6 separate regions of the Homo sapiens genome follow, and regions 1, 3, 4, 5 and 6 are each linked to region 2. The links are contacts of gene promoters, found by promoter capture Hi-C in blood cells and fetal thymus (Javierre and others, 2016). All regions are on one chromosome and are shown on one strand. Each heading gives the region's core, a stretch centred on a gene start or on the middle of the fragment in contact. The rest is flanking DNA. Distances are from core to core; before and after follow the strand shown.

Region 1 (3,647 bases), core at 849-3,348, 1.4 Mb before region 2:
GATTTATTTTTTTTCTACTTAGAGTTGTTCCTTTACAGTCAATGTTATAGGCAAGCAGTGCCTATCATGTATCTGTTAGTATCCTCATCAGTACGTTGCTCTAGGAAACTCTCCTGACATGTGATTGGGAGAGAGAACTCCCAGCAAGTCCATTTATCATATGACTAGAGTAAGTGAAAGGCAATTCTTTTTAAAATGTGAGTTATGGAGCTTTGTAATGTGCCATTTATCTATGTCTACTGTGGAAAGGAAGGACACCAGGGCAAGTTTATTACTTAAACGGTGTGTTCTCTGTTGTCCTTAGGGCTTAATTTTCCACACCTTGTTCTGGAACATAGTAATACTCTAACATGATGAATTTCCATGAAAACATTGATTAAGCACCAGGAGTTGCTTACCCACGTGGAGTAGGCATTTGACCCTGCTTATTAGTCTTCTGTGTCTAATTAAACAGTTTGGTTAAATGTTTACTACCCCACATATGCAAGGAATATTTTCTTGGAAAAAAGCGAAAACAGCTTTGGAAATTGGAAACAATCTAGAACTACTAGGCAGGTAAGCTTGAGAATTTCCCAAGGATAAAAGCAATGAATTCAGTCAACCATAGATTTGAAATGCTTCACTAAGAAATGAAATGGAAGGATCCCTACATTTCTTTTTCCTCCCATCAAAATGGTATTGACAAGAGACCATAAACCTTGGGCGAATGGAACAAAAGGGAACTATTTGCACTCACACTAAATGGATCACACGTGAAATATTTAGTTCCCAGTTTTAAGAAGTCAATATAAACCACACAGAGAGAAAATTCTTTGTCTCCAGGCCTCCTTTTCAAAACAATCCCAGCAGGTATTGCACAATTGCAGACAATACTGTCCTAATGCATTAGAGCCTAAGTCCCCTAAACGCATTCAAGTTAAGAGGGCTCAAGCCTACAAATGTTTATTCAGCACCTGCTTCTCTGTCTCCAGGACATCCTACTTGTATTCCCAGGGCCATCCTACTTGTACTCCCAGGGCCTCCTCCTCCTTAAATGTTTAGCAAGTAGGTGAATGTTGTATGTCCATGTGAAAGATACTGGCATTCCTAGGGTGCTTAGCAGAGTTGCAGTCACATAGTAGGTATCCAACAAATGAGTAAATATGAAGGAAAACATAGAAACTGCCTTCAAGAGGTCATGGGCTAAACTAGGGCTGGGAAAAGCACTTGGTCCTGTGCACTTCCTTGGAAACAGAAGTGAGCCAAGGCTTGAGGGAGGCACGAAGGAGTTCAGAACCACTGAAGGGAGCCTCTAGTTCTTACTTGTAATGCTTTCCCCTTCAGTGCACCACACAACACAACAGGACCAGTCCCCTATCAGGGCCACCACTCTACCGGGCTGGGGAGGAAAGCCCTTCGCAGTCCTGCGGGAACAGGAGGCACTCCCACATTGCTCCACTTCTCTGTATTCCAGTTTAATTAATTTTTATATTTTGAATAAAATTACACCCACTCTCTTCCATTATGGTGAACACTTAAAATTACATTTATAGAAAATTACATTTACACAAACTTGTTTAAAAGCCAAATCCCAGACCTAGGCTATTGGCCAAATTCCATTTAAAGGGGATATTAAGTAAATTAGTTGAGCTGATTAAAAACACCTTCATCAAAGTAGAGCATTGGTGCCAACAATATTAAGAGTTGAACTATTGATTACATTTTTTTTTCCACAGCAGATAATACATTAGCAGGGAGGAAAAGTGATTACTGCTCGCTTCCACTTCACAGGTAGAACTACTGATGGGGGTGACGCGGTAAGGTGGGAGGGCATGAAGGCAGGGGACGCGGCCTAGGTCAGGAGGGACGCAGAGGAGAAAGGAAGAGGAGGGGTGGAGGCTGGTGGCTGGAGGGGGCAGAGGTCAGACGCCTCGAAGGAGGGCGCCGTGAGGGCAGAGCCGCGGCCACCTCTACCGCAGCAGCCCGTCGGGCCGGACACCAGCCGCAGCCGCCAGCCCGGCAGACGCTGGAAGCGCGCACAGGGGTGCTCCCGCTCCCGGCCGCCAGAGGGCGCGGCCGGCGATGGCGCGGCGGAGACGGAGGGAGGAGGGGAGCCGGCAGAGAAGGGTCAGCCGCGGCGGCAGGGCGGCGGCGGCAGCGGCGCAGCTCCGCTCCCCGCGCGTCTCCCTTCCCCGCGCCCAGGTAGGGCGCTCAGCCTCCGCCGCCAGGATGCGGCCGCCCGCCTGCTGGTGGCTGCTCGCGCCGCCGGCGCTGCTCGCGCTCCTCACCTGCTCCCTGGGTAAGTAGCGGGCGGCCAGGCGCGCAAGGGCGAGGCGTGGGGTTCGCGGGCACAGTCGCCCGTGCCCCGGTCGGCGCGGGGAGGGAGGCGCAGGGCGGCCCAGCCCTGCCCCGCCGGCGCGCGCGTCCCGCCGTCCGGTCCCCGCCGCGCCGCGCCGTCAGCAGCGCCCTCTCGCGGCGCCCAGGTGGGACCCGGGCCCGGGACCCGAGGCGTGCCCGCTCGGCCCCTTTCGGTCTTGGGTCCCCGCTGCCGCCCCGGCCCCAGACTCGCGTCTCCCAGCCTCTGCCGCCCCGAACCGGCGGGCGACGGGGCGGCGAGGGCGCAGCAGCCGCCCCCACAGGAAGCGCGCAGGAACTGTGCCACCGAAGAAACTTTGCAACAGCGCGAGTGGCGGCGGCGGCGGTCCCGCCCCCCTGCCTTCCGCCCGCGCTCCGCCGTCCTGCGCGCCCCGCGCCGGGCGGGAGGCTGGACGGGAGCCGGCGAGGCGGCCCTCGAGGCCCCGCGGCTCCTGTTCGACCCCCGGGGGCGAGGACTGCGGTCCCGGTGTCCGCGCGCCCCTCCGCAGGGCCTTCGGGACGTGCCCTGGCCCCTGAGGATAAGCGGCCAGCTCGGCGCCAGCCCTTCCCGGATTCCGACCCGGAGGAGGACAGGGGCGCCCGCTGGGCCTCCGCGGGAGCTGGCGCGGCGGGGAGGCTTGCTCCTGTCTCGGGTCTCCGCTGGGGACATCAGGGGACACGTCTGCGAGCAGAGCAGTGCTTGCCCGGTCTCCTGCTGCTGTAATGCCCATTCTTTTTTATTTCTTTTCTCCTCGCAAGGGCATTTCCCCCCTTTATCTTAAAACGATGTGATAAAAGTTAAAAAAAAAAAAAAAGCAGCCTTGTAATTGACTTTCATGATCAGATTTGTTCAACTTTGAAAGCTTGAGCGAAAAATTATTTTTTTTTCAGACTGCTACAGAGTTTTTGTCCTCTAACCCAGACTTGCTGGTGTGAAAAGGCAATGATTTCAGATTTTTTAGTAATGGCAGAATGGTGCAGTTTAGGAAAAGACGTAGCGTTATTGCGCACTGCTCTTGTTAGCCCACCGGAACCTTGACAGCCTGTTTTTATTTGTATTTAAGCTCTCTGAATAAGGATTAATTTGCTGCATTTGTGTACTTCTGGCATTTCTATAGGCGCTCAGTAAGTGTGGGAAAAGAGCAAGATTAGTTGGTAATTGTTTACATGCATGATTAATTAGGCAGCAGTGTAATTAAAAATATTAGGGCACCTCCGGCAGAGAAGGCTGTAGTTGGTCTTGGGGAGCGACTGAATTTGGCTGGAATCGGCTTCAGTGGAAGAAGGGCATTGCTGGGTGGCAGCCCTGGGAG
Region 2 (3,542 bases), core at 470-2,969:
GAGGCAGGCAGATCACGAGGTCAGGAGATCGAGACCATCCTGGCCAACATGGTGAAACTCTGTCTCTACTAAGAATTACAAAAAATTAGCTGAGAGTGGTGGTGTGTGCCTGTAGTCCCAGCTGCTTGGGAGGCTGAGGCAGGGGAATTGCGTGAACTCAAGAGGGAGGTTGCAGCGAGCCAAGATCGCGCCACTGCACTCCAGCTTGGCGACAGATCAAGACTCCATCTCAAAAAAAAAAAAAAAAAAAAGAAAGAAAAAAGAAAAAAAAATTCTTGCTTTCATCCTGGCTTTCTTCTGAAACTTTCTGGCTTCCTGGCTTTGGAGGTTTGGGAATTGAAGAAAATAAAGTAAAAAACATAATAAAAACAACCAAAGAGGAAAGGTTTTTCTAGATCTAGACATCCTACTCTCCCATACAAGATTTATGTTGATGGAACAACGATGTAAAATAAGAAAATTCCTGAGATAATTTTAAAAAGAGGGCAGAAAAAACTCATAGTAGACTTCATCGAGGAATGTATAAAATGGGTAGAACCTGGAGTATTCAGTGGCAAAATCTTGGACACAGGAATACAGTAACACAACATATTGGTCTAGCAAGCACTGGAGGAGACTGAGGCGGAATTGTCCAGCGAATCCCACAAAAATGGAAATGAAGAGGTCTCAGTATCTCTAGGTGCCCGGGTCCGATGGAATACCGATGTACATACCTTTTCTAACACAGTAGCATTAGTTTATATATCAGCATTACCTCTCTTTTGTTTCAGTTGATAAGTATCCTACTGTAATCCATTCATTCACACTTTGCTTGTTCATTGTTGAAACAAATTCTCCCTGGAACAAAATTCTAGTAACCAAATACATCATATCAGGGGAAACTTCCTTACAGCAGGGATGGTATTAAAGTAAAAAGAGGAGGAAGTCCCTTCTTCAGCTCTGGCAGGGACCCGGCTGGGGAGGAAACCTTCCCGCAAGGTAGGTGATCTGCTGTGGTGACCAGGCTAAACCCACTCTACAGCTGCAGGAGGGACTGGCATCCCTTAGAGGTGAAGAGGGGAGGAGACCCACCTCCTGGAATGTGTCCCTGTGGTCTCCAGATGATTTCTTCCTCTAATAAGGACAATTCTGCCAAAGGAATGGAATGCTTCGTCACAGGCTCAATTACTCTGTCTCCGCCAGCCTACCACCTATAAACAATTCCTCAAATTAGGAAAGCGGGGAGATTTAATAAAGACATAACACGTAAAGTGTAGGAAAACTATTTGTATGGCATTCCGAGACGACTAGGTCAGAGTTAACAAGTAAGGAGCAAAGTAGTTAATAATACCAATTCTGTTTACCCATCACAACACCTGTGCTGAATGTCAGGGTTTAAAAAAATCTCCCAACCTTTATCTAAAAAGATAGGGCTACGTAACAATCGGTGTGGTTTTTGTCGGTAGAGGTCTAGGAAGCCGCAAGAGTAGTGGACGCCTTGACAGCTGCCCTTCTCGCGGGCCCCGCGGCGGCGTGCCCGTGTGGTTGCGTGCGCGCGGACGGGGCGGGGCTGAGGAGGGACGTGCGCGCGCGCGGACGGGGCGGGGTGGAGCTCGGAGGGCGGACGCGCTCGGGGCCGTCTGGTCGGCAGGGGGCGCTGCGCACCCATGCCGCGCTCTGCCTGCCCCCGGGTGCTGTCCGCGGCGGTTCGATTGGAGCAGCCGCCGAAGAGCGCTTGGCGCCATTTTGAAGCGGAGAGGAGGAGGAACGGCAGGGCTGGCTGCGGAAGGGGAGGGGGGGGGAGAAGGCGATTGGATGCGGCGGCGGCGGCGGATCCCGGAGAGCCCCGGAGTGAGCGGAGTAGCGAGTCGGCAACCCGGAGGTAGGAAACAATTCAGTTAACGGAAAGAAAATGTCTCTCTTCTCTGGCTGCGGCGCTCCATTTTTCAGCGGCCGCCACTGCCGCTGTGTGCGTGTGTGTGGCAGGGCTGAAGCGCCGCCCGCCTGGGTGCCAGGCGCGACTCGCCTCCCGGCATCGGGGGCTGCAGCGGGTGGCTGCCTGGCGGTGGCCCGGGGCGGGGGTCGCGGGGCGCGGGCCGGCTGCGCGGTGGGGGTGGGGAGGGCCCCGCGGCCGGCGCGCGCCTCCACGCCGCGGGTTCTGCCGCAGCCTCTGGAAAATTAAACTTGCCGCTCTGATCCCGGCCGGGGCGGCGGCGGCGGCGGGCGGTGACCTTGCGCGCGGGCGGGGGTCTCGGGGCCGCCCGGCCGCCCGCGCCCTCCCGCCGCCGCCGTCGCCGCCGCCGCGCCCCTCCCCCCGCGCCCCGGCCGGCCGGCGGCTGTTTCCCGGGCGGCAGGCGGGCGGCGCGGTGCTCCTGTTGAATCCTCCCGCGGGCGGGCTTCTCCCCCTTCCGGGCGAGGGGCGGGCGGGGACCGCGGGTCGGGGCCGCGGGCGCTCTCGCCCCCGCCGCCGGGTCCCCGCGCGCCGCCTGGCCTCCGCTTCGGGCCAGGGGACGGGCTGAGCGTGACATTTTTGCACTGTCCCTCGCCGCTCGCCGGAGGGAAATCGCGCTCACCGCGCCACCCCGAGTGGTCCCCGAGCAGCCAGTTGAGGAAGAGCCCAGCACTGGCGTGGAGGGACTCCTCCCAGGCCACAACTGGGTTCTAGCTTTCCTTTCAGAAGGAACGGCGGGGAAAATGGTGTGCAATTGTGACTCGTTATTGTTTTTACACTGTTATTTTAATGTTACTTTAAAAGTTTTCGGTCCGGAGAAAAACCTTGTTTGTTGTTGTTGCTGCTACTGCTGTTGGTTTTTGGTAGAGACGTGAAAGCTAACTCTTAAGTAGCTCGACAGTTATTTTGGACGAATGACTGAAACCAGAAACGCCGCCCCTCGCCTTCGGAGCTGCAGGCTGCTGCGTTCCTTGCCGCGGACGGGGCGAGCTCCGGGAAGGGTTGGTAGAGCAGCTACCCACCCACTCCACGCGCGTCTTCAACAGCCTCTCTCCCCCAGCGAGGGTTAACCCTTTTTTATGTCGAAGAAAGTGCTTCTCGTACTTTTAATAAGAGGTGATGGATGGGCAGTGGTGCCCAGACTGATCCTACCCTGTTGATGAAATAGTTTCGAAAACTTTGGGTATAGCCTTAATTTAGAGGGTTGGTCTGCGGTGTGGAGAGAGTTGGGTAATCCTATACTATCTTCCTAATGAACTTCAAAAACTCAAGTTGTGTTTACATACAGGAGGCGAGCTGTAAATAAATCGTAATTACCCAATGCTTGAACGGCAGTATAGTCATTGTTCTCAGTTAACACATCCCGAGTTCCCAGACAGAACGTTTTTTATATTAACTCATGTAGTGGTCAGGTAAAGTAATTAAAAGCCACAAATATGGACTTGAAAGACAGCTCTTCATGCAGTACACATGTCTGAGATGTTCGCATCTTTAGGGACAATAAAATGAGTATTCAATGGTGTATGCAGGTCAGTTCGTGCAACAATTAATCTTGTATCTCATGGTGATAGCAGAAAACCTAATTAAAATTTGTAGTGCTGAATATGTAGGT
Region 3 (3,742 bases), core at 359-2,858, 1.1 Mb after region 2:
ATACAAATATGATAAGAGCCATGAAGGAAAACATTTAGTTGAAAGCACTGCAATACAAGTGAGTCCAATATATGTCAAGTACAACACAAAGCATCTTCTTTGCATGGGTTTTACTACTTTCTAGCACATTCTTGCAGTGTTCTTAGGTAGGCAGCAATGCTGTAAGACACAGTGAGGTGAAAATTAGGAGAAAGTAGTGACAGAATATTTTTCCTCTTAATGTAAATTGTGAAGGAAAAAAATTCCTCTACAAAAATTCCCGTAGTCTAAACTCCACATTTTCAAAAGTCCTTAGAGCCATGGCAAGTTTCCATGGAGCACAGATTGAACTCTCTCATGTAGAAGAATAACCTACTTGTTTTCAGGAGAAAGGCGGGAAAAGTGCCTGAAACCACACCCACTAATGACATCAACAATTTCCAGAAGGAAGGCTCGCCCATAAAAAGGGTGCCAGCTTGGCTGGACAGAGAAAGCATGATGGTGGCCCCACCCATGATGTCAGCCCTGGGCCCTGACCGTACAGAACCTTCACACTGGGTTTCTTAAGGACCAGTTGCCATCTTGTCTCCTCCCTCCCCACAGCCCAAACTCAAATGCTAACTTTGACCTTCCTTCCTGCCCCTGCTGTGTCAGTTGGCATGTCTCAGGACTGTAGCAAAAGAAAGCTGGATTTTTTCCAGGAATAGCTTCAGTCTTGCTCAGATGAAAGGCAGGATGCCAGGGCGAGGTGATTTTGTTATTAATCAACCTTGATTTGCAGAAGATGACACAGATGCCAGGTCTGTGCTTTAAGTATCCTTTCAGCAGTGCTGAAAGTCAAATATTATTCAGCTAGGTTCTAAGCAGGCAGTTTAAATCATGCTAAAGGCTGTGCCATTTCAGTGCTAGAAACAGGAACTGAAAACGAATAATGTGCTATTGGGAAACTGCGGTGAACTCTGTCATTTTGAACCCTGAGCACCTGTTTGTACTTGTAAAGCTGAGAGTTCATGTCGAGGGAACATGGAGCTATTGGAATATGGCAGGACTGAATCTGTCCAACTTGACTTCAAGGGCATTTAAGTGAAAATTTGCTTTAAACAGTCAATGCTGAGGAGAGAAGAGACTCTGGAAATCTATAATCTAATCCTTGGGGAGCATTTCTAGTTTAATAAGTGGTAGAACACATTGCCCATCTTAGACAATCACCCATAAAAAATGTCCTGACCAAAATCCTGCTAGGCTATGCAAGTACTCCTAGTACTGAATGTCGGCTCAGTGAGTGCACACTTTGACTTTATTAATGGTGAACCATTTATCTGGACCCATGATAAGAGTCAAGTCTACCCTTTCATAAATTGATTTTGTTTTGTTTTCTAATGAAAAGTTTTAAACAATCTATATAAATGGCATATTGTCTAAATTGTAAAGTGTCGAGATGACATTTCATTTGTTTTTTGTTCTATTGAGAAATGGAAAGGTTAAGGGCTTCGGTGTCAAATGGATCAAAATTCAGACTCCAGTTTAGATACTTATGAGCTGTGCAATTCTGAGCAGTTTGCCTAACCTCTTAAAACTTCAGTTTTCAGCCGGGAGCGGTGGCTCATGCCTGTAATCCTAGCACTTTGGGAGGCCGAGGCAGGTGGATCATGAGGTCAAGAGATTGAGACCATCCTGGCCAACATGGTGAAACCCCGTCTCTACTAAACATACAAAAATTAGCTGGGCGTGGTGGCAGGCGCCTGTAGTCCCAGCTACTTGGGAGGCTGAGGCAGGAGAATCACTTGAACCAGGGAGGCAGAGGTTGCAGTGGGCCGAGATTGTGCCACTGCACTCCAGCCTGGTGACAGAGTGAGACTCCGTCTCAAAAACAAAACAAAACAAAACAAAAACTTCAGTTTTCCTCATTTGTAAAATGGAATCATTATAACAATACCTTGCACGAGCTAAAAACTTTCCTGTCACATATGCTAGAGGCCTAGCCCAGAGTATCTAAGTGCTCCATAAATGGTGGAGAGCTGCCGAAGTAGTGGGAATGGAAGTAGCAAGAATGTTATGAACAGTATTTGTCTTTCTGAAAGAGACTGCTCTTGACAAAAAGAATCATATCATACACTTCAGTGGAATTTCTCAGCATTTCTAGCATGGGGTGCAGGCAACAATCAGTGCTAGCTGAAATGTACTGACATGAATGAGTTGGGCATCAGTACATTTTCCCAGCTAGGATAATGGAGCAGGGAGGCAAGGTCACCAACTATTTTCTAGAGAGAGACATGTTAACACACACAGAGTGCTTCACTAGAAACATAGAAATAAGAACTTCCTCTGTCACAAAGGGTGTGAGATACTTGAGGGTGAAGAGGGGAGCAGTGGGGGGTAGAAGGTGGGGAAGGAAATGATGCAGAACCATTACAACATGGGCCAAATAACAAGTGAGAGGGAACGAAAAGAAGGGAACTCATGCTTGCTGAGCATGATATGTCAGCACTTGACACAAAATCCTTACTCTACCCTGAAATTTAAGTCCTTTTAGCCTCAGAGAGCTTAAATAAACCTGCCCAAGGTCCCACAGCCAATAAATGGTAGAACTAAAAATTGTACTTAGGGCTCTCCACCTTCAAATGGGGGTTCACTCACAGCTGCATGCCGCCACCCTGCTGTATCACAGTGCTCAGGATTTTTATGCGATGCCAATTTCTCCTCCAGCTGCCTCCCTTTCCTCACCCTTCATATAGATGATGTATAATTTATCATTCAAACCAGGCGACGTTGGAGACTCGAAGAGGGAGCTGTTTCTCCAGGACAACAGGCCAAACCAGCACTGTCTTAGGCAACACTGGACAGTTACTCACTCCACTCAAAAGAGTTATCTACACTCTGAGCTTCCTCAGCCCTCAAGCACTAATAACTACACTTATGCTATTCACTCTCTAAATGCTCTGGCTAAGATCACTGAGGACCTCCATGTCCCTAAATCACAAAGATGTTTTTAGTCCTTTTTTATTTGACTTATTAGGCTATTCTTTTTTTCTTCTCCTCCTTCTTTGAGACCAAGTCTCACTCTATCGCCCAGGCTGGAGTGCAGTGGCGTGATCTCTGCTCATTACAACCTTCGCCTCCCAGGTTCGAGCGATTCTACTGCCTCAGCCTCCAGAGTAGCTGGGACTACAGGTGTGCACCACCATGCTCGGCTAATTTCTTTTGTACTTTTATTAGAGACGGGGTTTCATCATGTTGGCCAGGCTGGTCTTGAACTTCTGAGCTCAAGTGATCCACCTGCCTTGGCCTCCCAAAGTGCTGGGATTACAGGTGTGAGCCACCGCCCTGTGCTGACTTATTAGACTATTCTGATGACTTCCGTTGTTTGCTACTCTGCATCTCCTTGGCTTTTGGGATACAGTACCACACTAGTTATCCTTGAAAACTATTTCTAGTTCTTCTAACACATAATCTTCTACTCAACTTTTAAGTACTGGAGCCCCTTAAGGCTTGGCCAGAGACCCTCTTTATTGAAAAAAAATTATTTATTTCTATATGTTCTCACTAGGGAACCTCATCTCTCCTGATGGCTTCACATAAGGTCTTTAAATTAATTACCATAAAATTTGCATTCCCACTCCAGATCTTGGATCTGAGCCCCAGGCCAGTGCTTTACTCAACATCGCTGCTTGGATACTTCACAGGAATATCAATTTCACTAAGCCTAAAACTCATCTCCTCCTCCCATCCCCAGCAACTCCATTTTCTCCTAATGACCACTAGC
Region 4 (3,372 bases), core at 295-2,794, 1.3 Mb after region 2:
GTTGCATAAGTCACAGAGTCTCTCTTTTTCCTAGCTTTTTTCTCACTGTCCTACAGTTTGAATAGTTTCCTTCAAGTTTTCAGCTCTGGCAGTTTCATTTGCTGCTTTTTTATATTTCTCATTGTTTTTATGTTTCTCTTTAAATCTTTTGAACATATTTATAATAGCTCTTCTGAAGTCTGTCTGCTTATTATATCTGTCATTTCTGGATCTGTTTCTATTGACTGATATTTTTCCTGGTTGTGGGTTAGATTTCTTGCCTTTTTGTATGTGCATTAATTTGGATTGGATTCTGGCTCTCTCATTATTACATTGTCATGTTACATTATCAAGTGTCTGAATTCTTTTTTTTGTGTGTGTTTTTTTTTAACTGTTGGACTTTGTCTTGGCAGACAATTACAGTTGATCCTTGAACTACAGAAGTCTGAACTGTGTGTATCCATTTATACGTAGTTTTTTTTTCAATAAACAAAAAATTTTTTTGAGACTTAATTTGAAAATACTCATGGAAAAATGCATAACCTAGAAATATCTTTTAAAATTTTAAAAAGGTACATCATAAATGCCTAAAATATGTGTAGCTACTAGTCTGTTTCATCATTTACTGTGATAAAATATATACAAATCTAGTACAAAAAGTTAAAATTTATCAAAACTTTCACAAACTCAGACCATACATGGTGCCATTCACAGCCAAGAGAAATGTAAACAAATGTAAAATTCAGGGGTCCTCAGCCCCCTGTGGCCTGTTAGGAACTGGGGCCACACAGCAGGAGGTGAGCAACCAGTGAGCACCAGAGACTATTACCACCTGAGCTCCACCACCTGTCAGATCAGCAACAGCATTAGATTCTCATAGGAGTGGGAACTCTGTTGTGAACTGTACATGTGAGGGATCTAGATTGTGTACTCCTTATGAGACTCTAATGCCTGATGATCTGAGATGGAACAGTTTCATCCTTCTCCACCCCTTCCTCCAGCCTTCTGGGGTCCATGGATAAATTGTCTTCCACAAAACTGGTCCCTGGTGCTAAAAAGGTTGGGGAGTGCAGTATTAAATCATAACTGCATAAAATTACAGTACATACTATGCTGCCTGAATACTTCTGTAGCCACCTCCTGTTGGTATTGCAGTGAGCTTAAGTGTTGTATTCATTTAAAATGCCATGTGGTACCTTTACAGATTGAGGTCTAAAGCTGTGGTTGCCCTCAATTTCAGACAGTGTATTCATTTTGAAGTATCAGTACAGTACTGTAGGTGTAATTTCTCTTCCATATCACTCAATATTTTCTGTAGCTTATATAATAATACAGTATATAAGACATATACAAAATGAGTTGACTTTATGTTATTGGTAAGGCTTTCAGTCAACAATAGACTATTGGTAATTACATTTTGGGGGAGTCAAAAGTTATACAGGGGTTTTTGACTGCATAGGGGTCTATGCCCTTAACTCTTGCATTGTTGAAGGGTCAACTGTATTTGATTATCAGCTTGTTGTTTTTCATGCTTGTTTGTAAACTTTTTTGGAGTAGGCCTGGCGTAGTCTTGAGTCCTAATTTAGCTTTAAAATAGGGGCATGATATTTCTAGGGTCTCTACTGCATGTCCTGGAGATCATTGGGGTATAACCATTCTGGGTCACCAGAACTCAAATATCTTCCAGCCTTGTGGGAGCTCTGGAAATTATTCAGCTTGCAGTTTTTATTTTCTCCATGGTTTTAGTTACCCATGGTCAATTGCAATTTGAAAATATTATGTGGCCAGGTGCGGTGACCATGCCTGTAATTCCAGCACTTTGGGAGGCTGAGGCGGGAAAGTTGCTTAGCCCAGGAGCCCGAGATGATCTGGGCAACATATTGAGACCCTGTCTCTACAAATGATAAACAAAATAGAAAATTAGCTGGGTGTAGTGGTATGTGCTTGTGGGCCCAGCCGCTAGTGGGGCTGAGGTGGGAGGATTACTTGAATCTAGGAAGTTGAAGCTGCAATGGGCTATGATCGTGCCACTGCACCCCAGCTTGGGCCACAGAGCAAGAGCCTGTCTCAGGAAAAAAAAAAAAAGAAAAATCCAGAAATAATTTGTAAGTTTCAAATTGCATGCCATTCTGAGTAATGTAATACGATCTAATCTTCCACCATCCTACTCCATCCCACCTAAGATGTGAACCCTCTTTGTCCAGTGGATCCAGACTGTATCTGCTACTTGCGTGTTAGTAATCAACCAAAGATAACAAGGCAACTCTTAACGTAGGAGTGCTTTTCTGTGTAACTCCCTTCTTTCCAGATCTCTGCCCAACATAGGCAGCCACCTCAGCCTCTCTGAATTCTGCTCCTTTTCCTCAACTCACTGTTATCACAGTTCTCTACCTGGGTTTTTCCTTCCTACCCTGCAGCCAAATGTAGGGTGGGAAGGAAGGTTTTTCTTTCCCACCCCGCAGCCACTTTCTTCCAGGCAGAAAGCCAGAATGATGGTATAGAGTTGACCTTACTGGTTGCTTTATATATTTTGTCCAGTTTTTTAGTTGTACAGTGGGAGGGCAAGCCCATTAACAGTTAGTGGCAGTATAAGTCTTGAAGCTAGGATTCTAACCTAAGGCCCTGGTTTCCATGTGTGAATCAGTGTTTTATGCCATTCTTTAAAAATCTATGATTTTATGTTTCATATAAATTAAAAATTTGTTCATGGGATTTGTAGTTGTGCAGTATACATCACAACAGAAACTTGTAGTTTTAAGTGCTGTTTTACACTCTGAGATTTATCAGAATTGAGTAATAGTACATTAAATATTATTTCCAAATTATAGCACTTAATCACAAAACACATTCCTTAAAAAGTAAAACAAAAAAACAAAAAAAACCTCAACTCTTGGCAGCAATTTTCTTTGTACCTTGTTCCCAAGTAAAACATAGTCATCTCATATTTTTCAAATTGATGAACAGATTTCTCTAGCTATTTGCTCCTGTTTTTTTTTTTCCTGTTTACAATTTCTATGGAAATTTGGAGCATTATCACAAGATGTTCTCTATCAGTTTGATTATAGTGTACAAGATTTACAATAAATTACTTTCCTCTCTGCAGCTTTGCAAAAATAGTGGTCTCCACAAACCTCAGCTCCTATCTAAATTGCAGCCTAATGCCAATTTACAAACACTATATGGTACCTTTGTGGCTTAGTAGCTTATGCTCCTTTTGCAGTTGTTTAATTAGCTGATGGCCCACTGAAGTTACCTTCTCTTTAATATAGCAGCACCAGAAACTTAAGCAACTTCCTGAAGAGCAGCTGTGCAAAATAATTACTAGCTGTAGGCATGGAAAGAGCTTGACACAGTTTCTCTAGAATAACATTAAGTACCTTTATGTGAGGCACT
Region 5 (3,429 bases), core at 202-2,701, 1.2 Mb after region 2:
ACCTACAAAGAAGTTCATTGCAGCATTGCTTATCATATTAGAAGATTGAAACTAAACGGAATGTCCAACATAAGGGGATTTGTAGAATAAAAGCATACATCTTTCCAAGGGACTATGGAATAGATATTGAAAATGTTGTAAAGGCAGAATATTTCTATATATGGAGAGAAATAAGAAAAGCGGGTTATAAAACATACAATATGGTACACATTTCCTTCTTAGGAAAAAAGAAATGAGGCCTGGGGACTATATACATAATGGTATTTATCTGTGGGTGATGGGATTATGAGTTATTTTTATTTCTCTGTTTTTGTTTATTGGTATCTTATGTTAGTCTGAAATAAATATGTATTATTGGAGTCCAGAATATACTACCCCAAAGTATGACTGTCAAGGAGTTCAGGATATGCTACCCCAAAATATACTGTTTTGGTATGCAGTCAGCCCTCTTTATCCATGGGTTTTGTATCTAAGTATTCAGCTAATTTAAATCAAAACATATTCAAAAAAGAGAAAACAGCAACAACAAAACAATAATAAAAAATAATACAAATAAAAACCTAATATACTGTAACAACTCTTTTTGCAACATTTACATTGTATTAGGTATTATAACTAATCTAGAGATGATTTAAAGTATATGGAAGGATATATATAGATTATATGCAAATACTATACCATTTTATCACCATTTTATCATGCATACACACACATGTTAACCCAAAATAACTGAGACAGGTTTCAGTCAATTTAGGAAGTTTATTTTGGCAAAGTTAAGGATGCAAGCCCATGACACAGCCTCAGGAGGTCCTGACAACATGTGCCCAAGGTGGTCCAGTCACATTTTAGGGAGGCACCAGATATCATTCAATATATATAAAATGTACGTTGGTTCCATCTGGAAAGGCGGGACAACTCAAAGTGGGGAGAGGGCTTCCTGGTCATAGGTAGGTGAGAGATAAATGATTGCATTCTTTTGAGTTTCTGATTAGCCTTTCCAAAGGAGGCAGTCAGATATACATTTATCTAAGTGAGCATAGGAATGACTTTGAATAGAAAGGGAGGCAGGTTGGCCCAAAGCAGTTCCTGGCTTGACTTTTCCCATCAGTGTAGTGATTTTGGGGTCCTAATGAAGGAGGATATTTCCCTGACATTTTCATGGGTGGGAACTGGAGTGCATGGGCACTGGCAGGAGCAAACTCTACTCACTTGACCTACTGCACTCCACCTCTCTTGGGATGGGGAGCAGGCAGGTGAGCAGGTACAGGAGCCAGGGTGAGTGCTTTTGGGCACTGGCAAGTACAAACTCTGTACCAGCCCTGTAGTGGCATCTGGGGGTGGAGGTGCCCGTGACTCCTGTAGACTCAGAAGGAGTGTTACAGTGCCCTTTTAGCCTTGCCACCTGTGGGTGGCTTAAGTGTTAACAGCTCAGTGGAGGGTCAGTGTGACAGCCCTTTGCACCTACACTCATGGCACCCGAGATCTTGTCCAGCATCCAGAAGGAATGAGGTTGCAGGAATGAACTGAAGATGGCAAACACAGGAGAATTTATTGCCAATGAAAGTGGCTCTTAGTGGGAAGGGGAGCTGAAAAGGGGACAAAGTGGGAAGATAATCTTCCCCTGGAGTCCAGCCATGTCTGGCCAGACTCCTCTCTGAAGATATGCCATCAAGCTGTCCCTCTGAAATCAAGTTGCTTCTCTCCAACATCCAACCATAGTCTCCAATGTCCAACTACTTATCCTCCTCTCTGCTGGCTGAGTCTGGGGATTTTATGGGGTGGGCCATGGGTGATTCTGGAAAAGGCAACATTCAAGTGGGGAAACATGGATGTAAGCTCTCACTTTGGGCCAAGGTATCAGGCTTTTCAGCTCCAGGGTGGGGCCCTCTCCAGGGACTCACATATTTTATATACACACACACACACACACACACACACACACACACACGCACACGTATATATATGTGTGTGTATATATAATATGTGTATATATAAATGTAATAAAATGGTATAGTATTTGCATATATCCTACATATACGTGTGTGTGTGTGTGTGTGTGTGTGTGTATATATATATATATAAAATATGTGTATATATATTTAGTTTTTTTAAAAGAGATGGAAGTCTTTCTCTGTTGCCCAGGCTGGAGTAAAGTGGCACAATCATGGCTCCCTGCAACCATGATCTCCTGGGCTCAAGTCACCCTCCCCCAACTCAACCTCCTGAGTAGCTGGGACACCAGGCATGTGCAGCCATGTCCAGATATTTTTTAAAATTTTTTTGTACAGATGGGGTTTTGCTATGTTGCCTAGGCTAATCTCAAACTCCTGGCCTCAAGTGATCCTCCTGCCCCAGCCTCCCAAAGTGCCAGGATTATAGGCATGAGCCACTGTGCTTGGCCACTACACCATTTTATATAAGGAACTTGAGCATTGGTGAATTTTGGTATTCGCAAGGGTCCTGCAACCAATCCCCAGGGATACCAAGGGACAACTATATTTATTATTTTGAGCTGAGGGCACTTGAAAAGCAGCAAATGCAATGAGAGGCTTTCTCTGAACTCTCCTATCTGCCTAAAGACAGATCCTTCAAAATTGACTCCATTGTCATTAATCCCCTCCCTGGGAATTTCATCAACAGAAGAAGATTGACGCTTATTAAAAGAGAGGACAGGGCGGATCACCCGAGGTCAGGAGTTCAAGATCAGCCTGGCCAACATGGCGAAACTCTGTCTCTACTAAAAAATAAAAAAAATTAGCTAGGCATGGTGGTGGGTGCCTGTAATCCCAGCTACTTGGGAGGCTGAGGCAGGCGGAATTGCTTGAACCCGGAAGGCGGAGGTTGCAGTGAGCGGAGATCGTACCACTGCACTCCAGCCTGGGTGACACAGCAAGACTCTGTCTCAAAAAAAAAAAAAAAGAGGACACTGGAAATTGACACCACACCTAGGCAAATTTTGTCACAAGTGATCACATTATCATATTTATGCTTCTAAAAGCCCATTCTTCTTTCTTAAAAATCATTTGGTCTCTCCCATGTGACCTACCTCTCCCCACACCTCTTCCCCTATTAAGATGGTATACAAGCTCCCAAACCTTACCATTTCTTTGGGTGTTCACCTTATTTTCCTGTGATATCCCCATGCACATGAAATTAAAAATTAATAAGTTTGTATATTTTTTCTCCTGTTAATCTGCCTGTCAGTTTATTTCAAAGAGTCAGTTATGGAGTCTAGGAAAGTGAATAGAAAGTCAGTCTTTTCTTCCCTATAAAATTACTTATGCAATGAGGAAAAACAGCTTTTGTTTGTTTAGTTTATTTTAAGAGGATCCACATAAATAATTTATTACCAGTAGACTTCCAGATATTAACATTGGTCCAGACAAACATTGAAGTATCTGAAGAAGTTCAAGTAGGTGCTGCCTTCTC
Region 6 (3,371 bases), core at 416-2,915, 1.1 Mb after region 2:
TGGTGACATTTGACCTTCCTGTACCTGGATATTTATTCTCCTTCAGATTTAGAAAGTTTTCTGTTATTATTTCTTTGAATAAACTTTCTACCCCTTTTCTTCTTTGGTTCCTTCTTTAACTCCAAGAACCCAAATATTTGCCCTCTTGATATTGTCCCATAGATCCTGTAAGCTTTGTTCTTTCCTTTTTATTTTTCTTCTCCTCTGACTGTGTATTTTTAAATACTCTGTCTTCTACCTCACTGATTTTTTTGTTTGATCAATTCTGCTTTGATGCTTTCTATTGCATTTTTAAATTTCATGCATTGCATTTTTCAGCTTCAGAATTTTTCAAAAAACATTTTATCTCTCTGTTAATTTTTGTGATAAATTTCTGAATTGAATCTTTGTGTGTTCTTGAAGTTTGCTGAGCTTCCTTAATACAGCTATTTTTTTGAGTTCTTTGTCTGAGAGATCCCACATTTTTATCTTTATCATTTTCTTTTTTGAGGCAGGGCTTTACTCTCTCACTCGGGATGAAATGCTATAGCTTGATCTCAGCTCACTGTGGCCTTGAACTCCCAGGCTCAGGCAATCCTCCTGACTCAACTTCCCAAGTAGCTGGGACCACAACACATGCCAGCACACCCAACTAATTTTTTTAATTATCTGTAGAGATGAGGTTTCATTATGTTGCCCACGCTGGTCTCAAACTCCTAGGCTCAAGCAATTCTCCTGTTTTGGCCTCCCAAAGTGCTGATATTACAGGTGTGAGCCACCACACCTGGCCTTCTGGCACCTTATTTTGTCTGTTTGGTGAGGTCATATTTCCCTGAATGTTCTTCATGCTTGTGAAAGTCTGCACATTGAGGGATCCGTTATTTATTTTAGTCTTTGTAATCTAGCTTTGTTTCTGTCTGCCCTTCTTCAGAGGGCCTTCAAGGGACTGTTGGGCAACTGACTGTTTTGTTCCCTGAGCCTTTGACCACTGCAGCTGTCTCAGCACTAGAGATATTCTAAGTCCAGGCTTGTTGCAAATCTCACAGGGGCTCCAAGGTTGATGTAGCTTTCTGGCCCACGTGGACCTGACAAAGACCCAGAGAAGTACTGGAGCTGTATGGGAGTGCTGGTCAGGGACCTGAGTCCAGAAGACTGTCCTGGTGACCTAGACATGTGTCCCTCCCAGCAGGTCTCGGCAGAGAGAAAATGGGTCCCTTACTGCAGTGAAAAGGACTGGAGTTGAGACTGGGCCACTTTGATATCTGCTGTTAGACAGAGGCTAGAGAGCCTTGTTTTGTCTCAGAGGGGTATGCATCACCCAGCAAGTTCTCTCAAACATAGGATAGTTCCCCAGCTGCAGCAGAAGTGGCCAGAGCTGAGACTATACCACTTCAGGATCTCTTCTGGATGGAGGATGGCATGCTTGTTACATTGGCTTAGATAAAGATGCATCTTCCAACAGTTCTCTGAACATATGGTATAATTCCCTGATTTCATCAGAAGGGGCTGAAGCTGAACTGGGCCCCTCAAGATTTCCTGTGAAACAGAGGCTGGAAAATCTCTTTTTTGCCCATACAGGTACATGTTTTCCAGCAGGTCTCAGCACAGATAAGATTATTCCCCAACTTCAGTGAGAATGGCAAGAGCTGAGACTGGGCCCCTTCAAGATCTGCTATGAGACTGAGGCCAGAGAGCCCAGTCTTGTTGTTCCAGAGGGGCACCTGTCTCCTACCAGGATGCTGCACAGACAGAATAGTTACCTGACTGCAGCAAGAAGGGCCAGAGCTGAGACTGGGCCCTCACGATCTTCTGTAGGACAGAGACTGGAGAGCCCATGTCATTGGTGCAGGTAGTTACATATCTCCCAGCAGATCTCAGCACAGATGGGATAGTTCCCTCACTGCAGTGAGAGGGGCTGGAGCTGACACTGGGTCCCCTTGAGATCTACTGTGGGTTAGAGGTTGGTGAGCCCATCAGGGAGACTCAAACCCTGAGGCAGGGATATATAGGTGATATAGGATTTACGACTCCCTCTGGGTCCTCTTGTAGCTCTGAGCTGGGACCTCAGCTGGGGAAGCCTGGGGCAGCCCCTCAGGACAACTTTCAGGTTCACTGCTGAGACTGATGTCAGTCTGCCAACCAACAATTCTTTCCACCAAGGCATTAGTGTGCATGATTTCTTCTGGATGCCTGGGAAGATGGTTTTGGTTGTAGACTCAAGGCTAAATGAAGCTATAACCAAGCCCCTTGGGAGACTAGGCTATTTATGGGCTTGAACCCAGAAACAAGTGTGCCAGGGTAGATCTGCCAACTAGATGTCAGTCTGTAGTCTCAAAACAACTCTCCTAGGTCTTGGGCTCCACTGTGATTTCACAAACTCCTACCTACATCCTGAGGCTCCCATAGAGAGACTTTTGACTGTGGATGGGTATACAGTTCTTCATATTCTGGGGGCGATAAATGGATTACCTTCTTTTTTTTTTTTTTTGAAACGGGGACTAGCTCTGTCACCCAGGTTGGAGTGCAGTGGTGTGATCTCAGCTCACTGCAACCTTCGCCTCCTGGGTTCAAGTGATTCTCCGGCCTCAGCCTCCTGAGTAGCTGAGATTACAGGTATGCCACCACTCCCAGCTATTTTTTGTATTTTTAGAAGAGATGGGATTTCACCATGTTGGCCAGACTGGTGTCAAACTCCTGATCTCAAGTGACCCGCCTGCCTTGGCCTCCCAAACTGCTGGGATTACAAGCATGAGACACTGCGCCCAGCCATGGTTTACTTTCTATTTTACCATCTTGGTGATCTCACTCTGGAAAAATTAATTTTTTAATGAAGGAACTCCTTAATCATACCTTGGAGAAGAGTATATATCACAGCATGACAAGATCTACAACTTAGTATAGGACAGAAAAAAAAATTATGTATTTATATTTTTCTAGAAGCTGCTAATAGTTAAATGATCCATTTTAGCACTGGTTTGATTAAATAAAGAAACTAGAAGACAGAAAAACTCTATAATGTTGTTTCTGTGTTTTTATATTGTCCTTTTATTTTCAGACAATGGAGACCATAAAAGTGAACACTATATCTAATAAATCAAGGAAATGAAAATACAGCTGGGTGCATGAATGAAAAAGGTGTTAATGATGTTTACATATTATTCCACTTTACAACGTAACAGAAAGCTTGCTGGCTATACACATTAGATCTAGAAAGTCCTGCAAGTTCCTCTGGGGAAAAGTTGCTGTGAACCACACAAAGCAGAATTTTCTTCTGACATCAGGTATATTATATAGTCACAAGATATATAAAAAGAGCAAAAAATAAAAATGCAAATATTCTGATGAATAACTTTCACATAGGTCCAGAAGATTGCTTAATGCAAAATTGTGTT

The links. The method cuts DNA at HindIII sites, captures the fragments that hold promoters and counts their contacts. A CHiCAGO score of 5 or more calls a contact.
Region 1: a contact is called between the fragment with the promoter of B3GLCT here and the fragment with the promoter of PDS5B in region 2, in 1 of 17 cell types (non-activated CD4 T cells). The highest score is 5.1, in non-activated CD4 T cells.
Region 3: a fragment that was not itself captured here is called in contact with the fragment with the promoter of PDS5B in region 2 in 11 of 17 cell types (naive CD8 T cells, naive CD4 T cells, neutrophils and 8 more); the score reaches 12.4 in naive CD8 T cells.
Region 4: a fragment that was not itself captured here is called in contact with the fragment with the promoter of PDS5B in region 2 in 1 of 17 cell types (neutrophils); the score reaches 5.0 in neutrophils.
Region 5: a contact is called between a fragment that was not itself captured here and the fragment with the promoter of PDS5B in region 2, in 1 of 17 cell types (neutrophils). The highest score is 5.3, in neutrophils.
Region 6: a fragment that was not itself captured here is called in contact with the fragment with the promoter of PDS5B in region 2 in 1 of 17 cell types (total CD8 T cells); the score reaches 6.5 in total CD8 T cells.

Annotation. Positions count from the first base shown.
Region 1 is chr13:31,197,877-31,201,523 of GRCh38, forward strand. It overlaps B3GLCT (beta 3-glucosyltransferase), which reads left to right and starts at 2,099. Exons shown (of 15, transcript NM_194318.4): 1 at 2,099-2,278. The coding sequence starts at 2,209. RefSeq lists silencers at 1,740-1,799, 1,850-2,749, 2,810-3,059. The HindIII fragment of the contact is 2,637 bases long and covers 559-3,195 here.
Region 2 is chr13:32,584,733-32,588,274 of GRCh38, forward strand. PDS5B (PDS5 cohesin associated factor B) reads left to right here and starts at 1,720. Exons shown (of 35, transcript NM_015032.4): 1 at 1,720-1,861. PDS5B-DT (PDS5B divergent transcript) reads right to left here and starts at 1,713. Exons shown (of 3, transcript XR_001749808.1): 1 at 1,645-1,713; 2 at 1,072-1,190; 3 at 286-837. RefSeq lists silencers at 1,405-1,774, 1,785-1,864, 2,285-2,534 and an enhancer at 2,765-2,824. The HindIII fragment of the contact is 4,434 bases long and covers 1-3,542 here.
Region 3 is chr13:33,728,003-33,731,744 of GRCh38, forward strand. No RefSeq gene overlaps it. Among named protein-coding and RNA genes, the nearest start is that of RFC3, 88 kb to the right of the region's middle. The HindIII fragment of the contact is 6,126 bases long and covers 1-3,742 here.
Region 4 is chr13:33,840,240-33,843,611 of GRCh38, forward strand. It overlaps a transcript of RFC3 not described here. Among named protein-coding and RNA genes, the nearest start is that of RFC3, 24 kb to the left of the region's middle. The HindIII fragment of the contact is 4,422 bases long and covers 1-3,372 here.
Region 5 is chr13:33,746,998-33,750,426 of GRCh38, forward strand. No RefSeq gene overlaps it. Among named protein-coding and RNA genes, the nearest start is that of RFC3, 69 kb to the right of the region's middle. The HindIII fragment of the contact is 4,481 bases long and covers 1-3,429 here.
Region 6 is chr13:33,706,785-33,710,155 of GRCh38, forward strand. No RefSeq gene overlaps it. Among named protein-coding and RNA genes, the nearest start is that of RFC3, 110 kb to the right of the region's middle. The HindIII fragment of the contact is 2,990 bases long and covers 171-3,160 here.